2 separate regions of the Homo sapiens genome follow, and region 1 is linked to region 2. The links are contacts of gene promoters, found by promoter capture Hi-C in blood cells and fetal thymus (Javierre and others, 2016). All regions are on one chromosome and are shown on one strand. The core of a region is centred on a gene start or on the middle of the fragment in contact, and the rest is flanking DNA. Distances in the headings are between cores, read along the strand shown. Region 1 holds the start of PLCE1-AS1 (PLCE1 antisense RNA 1). Region 2 holds the start of TBC1D12 (TBC1 domain family member 12).

Region 1 (4,121 bases), core at 869-3,368, 120 kb after region 2:
GCAAGATATTGGGAGGCACCGAGGGTAATTAAGTTTCAGTGAACAGGGCTACCTCTCAGTGGTGTGTTGGTTGACATTCTCCCGAGAGTTCTGTTCCAAGCCCTCTCATTTCTTGAAATGCATCCCTTTGCCCTCCAAGGTGTTCCAACCTGCAGCACTACTGTGGGTCTGAGTAACCCAGAACAGCCATGGGGGATGGCCAAGGCTCTCTGTGGGGGAGGCAACTCTCAGTGCCAGGGACCTACACCCAGCTAGCCCAAAGCTGTCCAAGGCAGCAGGGTTCTACTTTTGTCATTCAAATGGCTTGTTAGCAAACCACTGTTTGATGAACAAAGCTTGTCTCTCAGTGCTGAGAAAATGACAGTGTGTGTCCAGGGAATGGACTGACACTTGCAAGGCTCTCCCCATGTGGCTCCTTCAGTGTAGGAATAAAAATGAGCCCTGGAAGTCACAGAATCTTCCGGACGAGCCTCACCATGGAATCCCTGGGCACCTGCTCTGTGGACTGTGTGGTGGATCCAAAGGAGAATGAGGCAAAATCCCCCTCAGAATCAGACTTCCAGATCATCTGGCTCTACCTGCTCCTGAATTGCCTGCCTTAGAAACCCAGGGACCAGGACCTCCCAGTGCCTTCCAAATGTAAATCCCTGGTAGAGAGGCCTGAGACTGGGTATGTTAATCAAGTGGCCTGGGTGATTCTGGAGATTTCAGCAAGTGTAGTAAACAAGGATTCTAGTCAACTCCACTTTTGAGTGAGAAAGGCTCAGAGAGATTTGCCTTGGCCAAATCACAAAGCATGGTAGCCAAGAGCCCAGGTCTCTGACCCACGATCTTATCTGATGATCTTGTCACCACTGAATAATTTTTGTCTTACAGGGTTGTAATCTTTTAAGCTATGGGTATGTCAAGGCATACAGAGCAGCGTAATGGACATTGGAGACTCAGAATGAGAGTGGGAGGGAGGTGAGGGATGAAAAACTACCTGGTGGGTATGACTTACACGACTTGGGTGACAGGTGCGCTAAAATCCCAGACTTCATCACTATACAATTCATCCATGTAACCAAAAACTACTTGTACCACTAAAGCTGTCAAAATAAAAAAATTCAAAATAAAAGAACAAGGTTGCACTCCTAACTGTGGAACAACTGGGTATCTAGGAGGTACCCAAACATATGCCTATAAATGAAGGAGCTCCAGAAAGGAGATGTCACAATGAGTTGAAGAGTCTCAGATACTTTCCAAGGACCCCGTCCTTGGAATTTGGAATGGGGCCAAGGGGAGAAGGAAGGCCAGGCAAGGTTGAGAACACTCTGAGCAATGGCCTGGCACTAGAAAGACGGCAGTGTATGTAGGTGCCTGAGGAGAGTGGGGGATGCAGGGGAGCTTGTGGGAAGATATTGGAAACTAGGTTGATGGGGTCATAAAATAAAAATACCATATCCTTTTTTTTTTCTATTAGAAGGAGAAAAAAACCCAGGACAATAGAAGTACTAAATGCAACCGAGAAATAAACCCTAAGAGAAAGCAGGTCGAAAAAATTCAACTACTTCCATAGTGTGGTGCAAAGAGCCCACCCCTGGGAGCTGACAGGAATTCTGGCTCTTGCCCTGCCACTGACCTAGCTTCTGATGGTGGGGAAGTTCCTTCCTTTCTGTGGGCCTCATACCACATGATTGTTGAGTGCCTCATTGCAATGAAGGGTTTTTTTTTTTTTTTTGCATATGGCTTGTAAGAAGGGACTTGGGATGATGAAAGGTGACATACACTGAAATTGATAATGTAGCAAAATTAAAATAAACGGCATAGCAAAATGAACAGTTTATAGTATTTTCCTCATGTGCATCAAACAAATGATTGTAAAAAGAAATATTTAGAAGGTATTATAACAATCATTCTGGCAATCCAATTTAGCTATTTTGAGACAGGAAATAAAATCAGGGAAAAAATGTAAGAAATTTCATTTTTCTAAAGAGAAAATACACTATACCTATGAAGAAATGTATGCTATGTGAACACTTTTAAAAAACAACATACTTGGAATTTTTAAAATAAGCCGAACAACCACATGCTTAGAAGCTCTATCACATGACCTCCTGATCTTCCACGATTCTCTACTGGTACAGAGACTTTATCTTTCACACAGACTTCAAATATCTTTGGGAATTTGTGCTCCTTATTTACTGAGTGCTTGAGAAGAAAAGACAAAGCCAGTGGAATGGTCCGAGTGTGGCATCCGCTGCATTTATAAAGAATAAGAGCTGCAGTGGGTGTGATTCTTGGACAGAGTGGCGCTCATCCTTGTTCCTGCAATGAAGGACATGCCAGCCTCCAGGCTCTTTGACAGGTAAAGGGTTTTACTCCATCAGAAAAAGAGTTTTGCCAGTTGCAAATAATGGTCATATTGTACTTATATGCCATGAGGTCATGGTCTGTGAAATTAAACTTAAATGGCCAGGTTCCTGCATTTCTCTGAAATCTTTGCTGGCTACTTATTGATTCATATCCTCCTCAACAGGATTTGCTAGCAGACAAGCAGTAGCAGCTGCCAAAAGTTTAAAAACAGCTTATAGGAGAAAACTTACAATTAAAATGATTTTAATATCATGAAATATATGATTTTTATCATATCATTAAATAATATGATTTTTTTTACTCTGATGTGTGAAAAGCTCACTATTACCTAACTGTGATTTTAAAAATTTAATTATTATTTTTTAGAGATGAGGTCTTGCTATATATCTTGCCCAGGCTGGGCTTGAACTCCTAGACTCAAGCATTTCTCCTGCTCAGCCTCCCTGGTAGCTGGGATTACAGGCACGCACCACTACACCCAGTTTGCCTAATTTTTAAATAGCCCAATGCCTCTGGCCCATTTGTCAGGCACTGTGTGAGACCAGGTGCTTAAGATATGCTCTGGGAGGGACCTGAGTTCAGCCCATCTTGAAAAGATGAGGGCATTTTAGTGCCTCTCTCCAGGCCAAGTCTATAAATCCTGTTTACTAACATTTAGACTGATCCTCCTATCTCAGCCACTTTCCTGTTCTCAGAAATTATATTCAAGAGAATCCTTTTTCTTAGTATGAGGAGATGAATTTTTCTGAGTTCCATGTACTTAGGGACTTTCTTGTTTGTCTTCTACCCCCTGGTGCCCCATTTGTGGGACACATAATTGAGTACCTCATTGAAAACAGCCCGAAACAAGAGAGGCCAGGCAGTATAACGGGTAAGGGCAGGACTTTGGAGACAGACAGGCTTCAGAGCCATAGGTCTACCATTCATTAATTGAAAAGGACACTGTTTTTGGAAAGTGGTTCATCAGCCTGTCCACTGTACTTCTAAAAACGGTCAATTGGGGGAAATCTCTCCTTCCACTTCAACGCCATCCTTGGTCCTTGTGGTTTGGGTGGGGCCTTGCTACCCAGCTCAGAGTGGAGAATGTGACATGGGATCCAGACCATCAGAGCACTGCATCTCCTGGCCACAGTGATTGGTAAAGGACCCAATGAGAAACAATGACACTTCTGCGGGAAGTTCTGGAAGAGACTCTTACACTGAAGCTGAAACTGGAAGCATGTAGTGCTGGCCTGCTGTAGCCGTCTCGCAACCAGAAGGGAATAAAGGGGAGAAAGCCAACATGATGGAGGCGGAATGAGAAATGAGGAAAGAGAAAGCATGTACCTTGGTTAAGCTATACCTGAAACCTGTGTGTCTTCATTTTTAAGCACATGAGTCAATAAAGTTCCCTTTACTTAGGTCAATTTCTGCCACTTTCAAACAAAAGAATCTTGACTGATATACTCTGAAACTTGGGGCAAATTACTTCATCCCTCTCAGACTTTATTTTAAAATGGAGATAATACCGCCTACCTTGTAGAATCATTATGAACGGTAAAGGAGATGTACGTAAAATAGCACAAATCCTAGTACTTAAGTATTTAATACATTTAGCAATTAGAAATTATGAGTATTATAACTTTTATAATTATTAACTATTATAAAAAGACATTGTGTGACCTGAAAAATGAATACTTTATGGTATTTTTCTTCATGAGCATCAAGGCAAATTATAATAATAAAGATATTTAGGAGGTATTATAACAATGATTTCAGCAACACAA
Region 2 (3,905 bases), core at 777-3,276:
TCAAGTGATTCTCCTGCCTCAGCATCCCGAGTAGCTGGGATTACAAGCACCTGCCACCACGCCTGGCTAATTTTTGTATTTTTAGTAGAAACCGGGTTTCACCACATTGGCCAGGCTGGTCTCGAACCCCTGACCTCAAATAGTCCGCCCGCCTCAGCCTCCCAAAGTGCTGGAATTACAGGCGTGAGCCACCGCGCCCGGCCCATAATTTAATTTCAAGAATATCCTGTCAAATCACAAATACAATACCATTTTTTAAAAAAACTAAAGTTATTGGGGAAAAAAAGGAGAGGCTTATCTGGGAGATTAGAAAAAAGGCTTTCCTTAGTAAAAGCCCTACTTTGGCTTAAAAAGTTGGGATAAAATTCTAAACACCAAACTGCATTTTAATAAAGACCACTGAAACAAACGATTAAACACTATGAAGCACAACCACTTCTAATTTCAAGAATTCCCAAACCACTTGAATGGATTTAGACGCTATGCAAGCACAGCAAATAAACAGCTCTACAAAATGACTTCCTTCTCTCTTTCACAACCACACCCGTACACACATACCGCCTCCCCTCACCACCCCCCCAACAACCTAAATGTTTGTAGTAAAATTTTTAAAAATTGGAGACGGAGATGGTTATCTGCTTTTCCAGAAAAGGCAACTGCATATGTGGCACTAGACAGCTGGCCCAACCTGACTGCTCAGAAGCCAGGTATGAATGGCAGGTACAGCCTCCCGCGGACAAGGCAACAGAAAGACTCGCTGTCCACAGAGCTCACAACTTCTCCTATAGAAACACAAAGCCGACCCAGTTCCTCTTCCTCCAGTGACAAATCAAAGCTAAGTCCTGACGCGTGTGGGGCTGGCACGGAAGCGGCCGACCAAGCTCTCCGCTCCGGCTCCGGCTCCGGCTCCGACTCCCACCAAGACCCCGGCTCCGGCCCCGGCCCCGGACCCGCCCCGAGTCCCATGCAGCCTGCGCTGTACCTGGTGAAGAAGTCCGCGAAGCCGCCACTCCGTCGAGCCCGGGCCGAAGCCCCCGCAGGACCCTGCTCCGCGGCGGGCAAGGGCACCGGCGGCCCCGCCGGGGGCAGGTGATCGCGGGCGCTCTGACCGCGGCTCACCTGGAACGTGTTGCGAGAGTTGAAGTGAATGTCAGAAAAGCCCAGGCGCGGCTCCGCACCCCCATTAGTCCTCTCGGCCGAGGTGGCAGGGGGCGCGCCCTCCTCGGGACCCCCGGCGCCGACTCCCCGCTGCTCTGAGTCCTCGCTACTGCTGCAGCTGCTGGCGGGGCTGTCCCCCGAGTCGCTGCCCGCGCCCTCGGGCTCCTGGGCGTCCGCGGCCACCAGGCAGCAGCTCCGCAGCGGGTCCTCAAGCGGAGAGGCCCAATCGGACGGGCTTCCCGCGCCGTCCGCGTCCTCGTCGCCAGGCCCCTCCAGGCGAAGGCGGCCGTAGGGGCGGCGGCGGCGCGACTCCCGGCCGCCGGCGCGCGCCAGCCCGCGAGCCTCTTCCAGATCGCGACAGTCCCGGCCCGGCAGAAAACCCGAGTCGCCGTTGGTCATGCCTTCGTGCCGCGGCGCGCGGCCATCAGCCACCTCCGCGCCGCGGTGTTTGGAGCCCGAGCCCAGCAGGCAGGCGTCCGATCGTGGGGCTGCCGAGGGCGGCGGGGCGCCGGCCTGGCCAGCGGGGAGCGGACAGTAGCAGAGCCCCGGCTCCAGCTGCTCCCCGGCCGCCGCGAGGTAACGCTGAAGGAGCTGCCGAGGCGGCGTCTCCTCCTCCTCGTCAGCCTCCTCCTCCTCGTCAGCCTCCTCCGGCGGCTCCACAGCGCCGACGCCTCCGCCAAAGCCGCCCGTGGCCCGGATTACCTTCCTGTCCTGGCCCACGGGGTCCGGCGCAGGCACCGGGAGCAACTTGGGGTTTCTTCCCGAGCAGGCTCCGGCATCCTCCGGACCCACCATCTGGGGGTGGGTGGCGGCCGCCCCAGGAGGCAAAGAAGGACTACAGGCGCAGGCTTGGCCAGAGAACAGCTCTGGGTGCTGGGGCCGCGGCGACAGCCGCCGCAACGTTCCCAGACCCACCCCTCCCACCCGCTGGGTCGGACAGTTGCTTGAGGGCGGGCACGCGCCAGGACTCGCGCACGCGCAAAAGTCGGACCGGTCAAGCCCCGACCTGGAGATTCCCCGAACCATAGAGACGGTAGCTAGAGAGACGCAGGCTGCCAATCTAGGATCCGCCATCTGGATGGTGGAAGCTGGTTGGCCCGCTCTAAGCGTGACAGTTCTTACCGAAGCGCGGGTATTGCTCGCTTAGCAAAAATTCACTTGATGTATTTCATTTATGGTAGTAAAATACTCCCATATTTGGGAGGTGTTAGCGTGGGTAAGTCCTTCCAGCTCTAATTGGTCACCAGTCGACTTTACGATTTTTACATCCTTCTCCGGCATCATTGCCACAGTTCAGGGCTTCATCACTTCATCCAGGAGGGTCAACACCCTCCCTTCTTCACTTCATCTAACACAAAAGAAAGATATCCTAAGTTATCTTGCTCACCTAGCACCATGTTTCATCACAGTCCTCTGTTTAAAAGATTATCACCGGCCGGGCGCGGTGGCTCACGCCTGTAATCCCAGCACTTTGGGAGGCCGAGGCGGGTGGATCACAAGGTCAGGAGATGGAGACCATCCTGGCTAACACGGTGAAACCCTGTCTCTACTAAAAATACAAAAAAATTAGCTGGGCATGGTGGCGGGCGCTTGTAGTCCCAGCTACTCGGGAGGCTGAGGCAGGAGAATGGCGTGAACCCGGGAGGCGGAGCTTGCAGTGAACCGAGATCGCGCCACTGCACTCCAGCCTGGGCGACAGAGCGAGACTCCGTCTCAAACAAGAAAAAAAGATTATCACCTAAGGAGGGAGAGGAAGTGGTCAGGCAGAGAGGAGCTATTGAAATAATTCCAGCACTCTGCGATAGTGGATTAAAATGGGATGATTGACCATTGAGTGGAAATGAAGTATATTTAAAGTAAAAGACGAAAGACTTGATAACTGATCAGAAGTGACAGAAGAGAGAGTAACCAATGATTACTACAAAGATATGAGACTGAAACTGATATGGTTTGAAGAAATAGAAAAGTGGATAGGAAAAAAACGATTAATAGGGGAAATACATCTGGTAAAGTAAACGACTGAAAATATCCAGCATATAGAGTTCTAAAACTTGAGTTGGCTGGGCGCAGTGGCTCACGCCTATAATCCCAACACGTTGGGAGGCCGAGGCAGGTGGATCACCTGAGGTCAGGAGTTCGAGACCAGCCTGGCCAACATGGTGAAACCCAGTCCCTACTAAAAATACGAAAAATTAGCTGGGCATGGTGGTGGGCACCTGTAATCCCAGCTACTTGGGAGGCTGAGGCAGGAGAATCGCTTGAACCCGAGAGGCTGAAGTTGCAATGAGCCCAGATCGTACCACTGCACTCCAGCCTGGGCAACAAGAGGGAAACTGTTTCAAATAAATAAATAATAAAACTTGGGTTAGGGTTTAGGTTCAGAGACACAGATTAGGCGTCATCTGTATAATGCAAGTAGGTGGATGAATCATGAGTAACATTACCTAGGAAGAAAGAATAATGATAAGGGTCGGGCACAGACCCAAATGTTTCATTATTTCAGGACAAAAAAGTTGTATTGCAAGAAATTGAAGAGGCATCAGTTGTGGATAAAACGAAGCAGAAAATATAGACCACTCATTCTATAAAAGTATATAGAATATAGACCACTCATTCATTCTAAAAGTATGTTAGTGAATGCAAGAACAGAAAATAGAAGTCGTAGAGGAGACATTATTGTCAAGCATTTAAAATTTATTTCATATAAAAATACCTATACATACAGATATAAGAGGGAATATAACCTT

What was found. The method cuts DNA at HindIII sites, captures the fragments that hold promoters and counts their contacts. A CHiCAGO score of 5 or more calls a contact.
Region 1: a contact is called between the fragment with the promoter of PLCE1-AS1 here and the fragment with the promoter of TBC1D12 in region 2, in 3 of 17 cell types (total B cells, naive B cells and neutrophils). The highest score is 5.9, in total B cells.

Annotation. Positions count from the first base shown.
Region 1 is chr10:94,285,067-94,289,187 of GRCh38, reverse strand. It overlaps PLCE1-AS1 (PLCE1 antisense RNA 1), which reads left to right and starts at 2,118. Exons shown (of 4, transcript NR_033969.1): 1 at 2,118-2,347. The region is part of intron 22 of PLCE1 (phospholipase C epsilon 1); the gene reads right to left. The HindIII fragment of the contact is 4,167 bases long and covers 338-4,121 here.
Region 2 is chr10:94,400,662-94,404,566 of GRCh38, reverse strand. TBC1D12 (TBC1 domain family member 12) reads right to left here and starts at 2,026. Exons shown (of 13, transcript NM_015188.2): 1 at 983-2,026. The coding sequence starts at 1,953. RefSeq lists enhancers at 519-818, 2,119-2,278 and silencers at 899-1,228, 1,299-1,788. The HindIII fragment of the contact is 10,631 bases long and covers 1-3,905 here.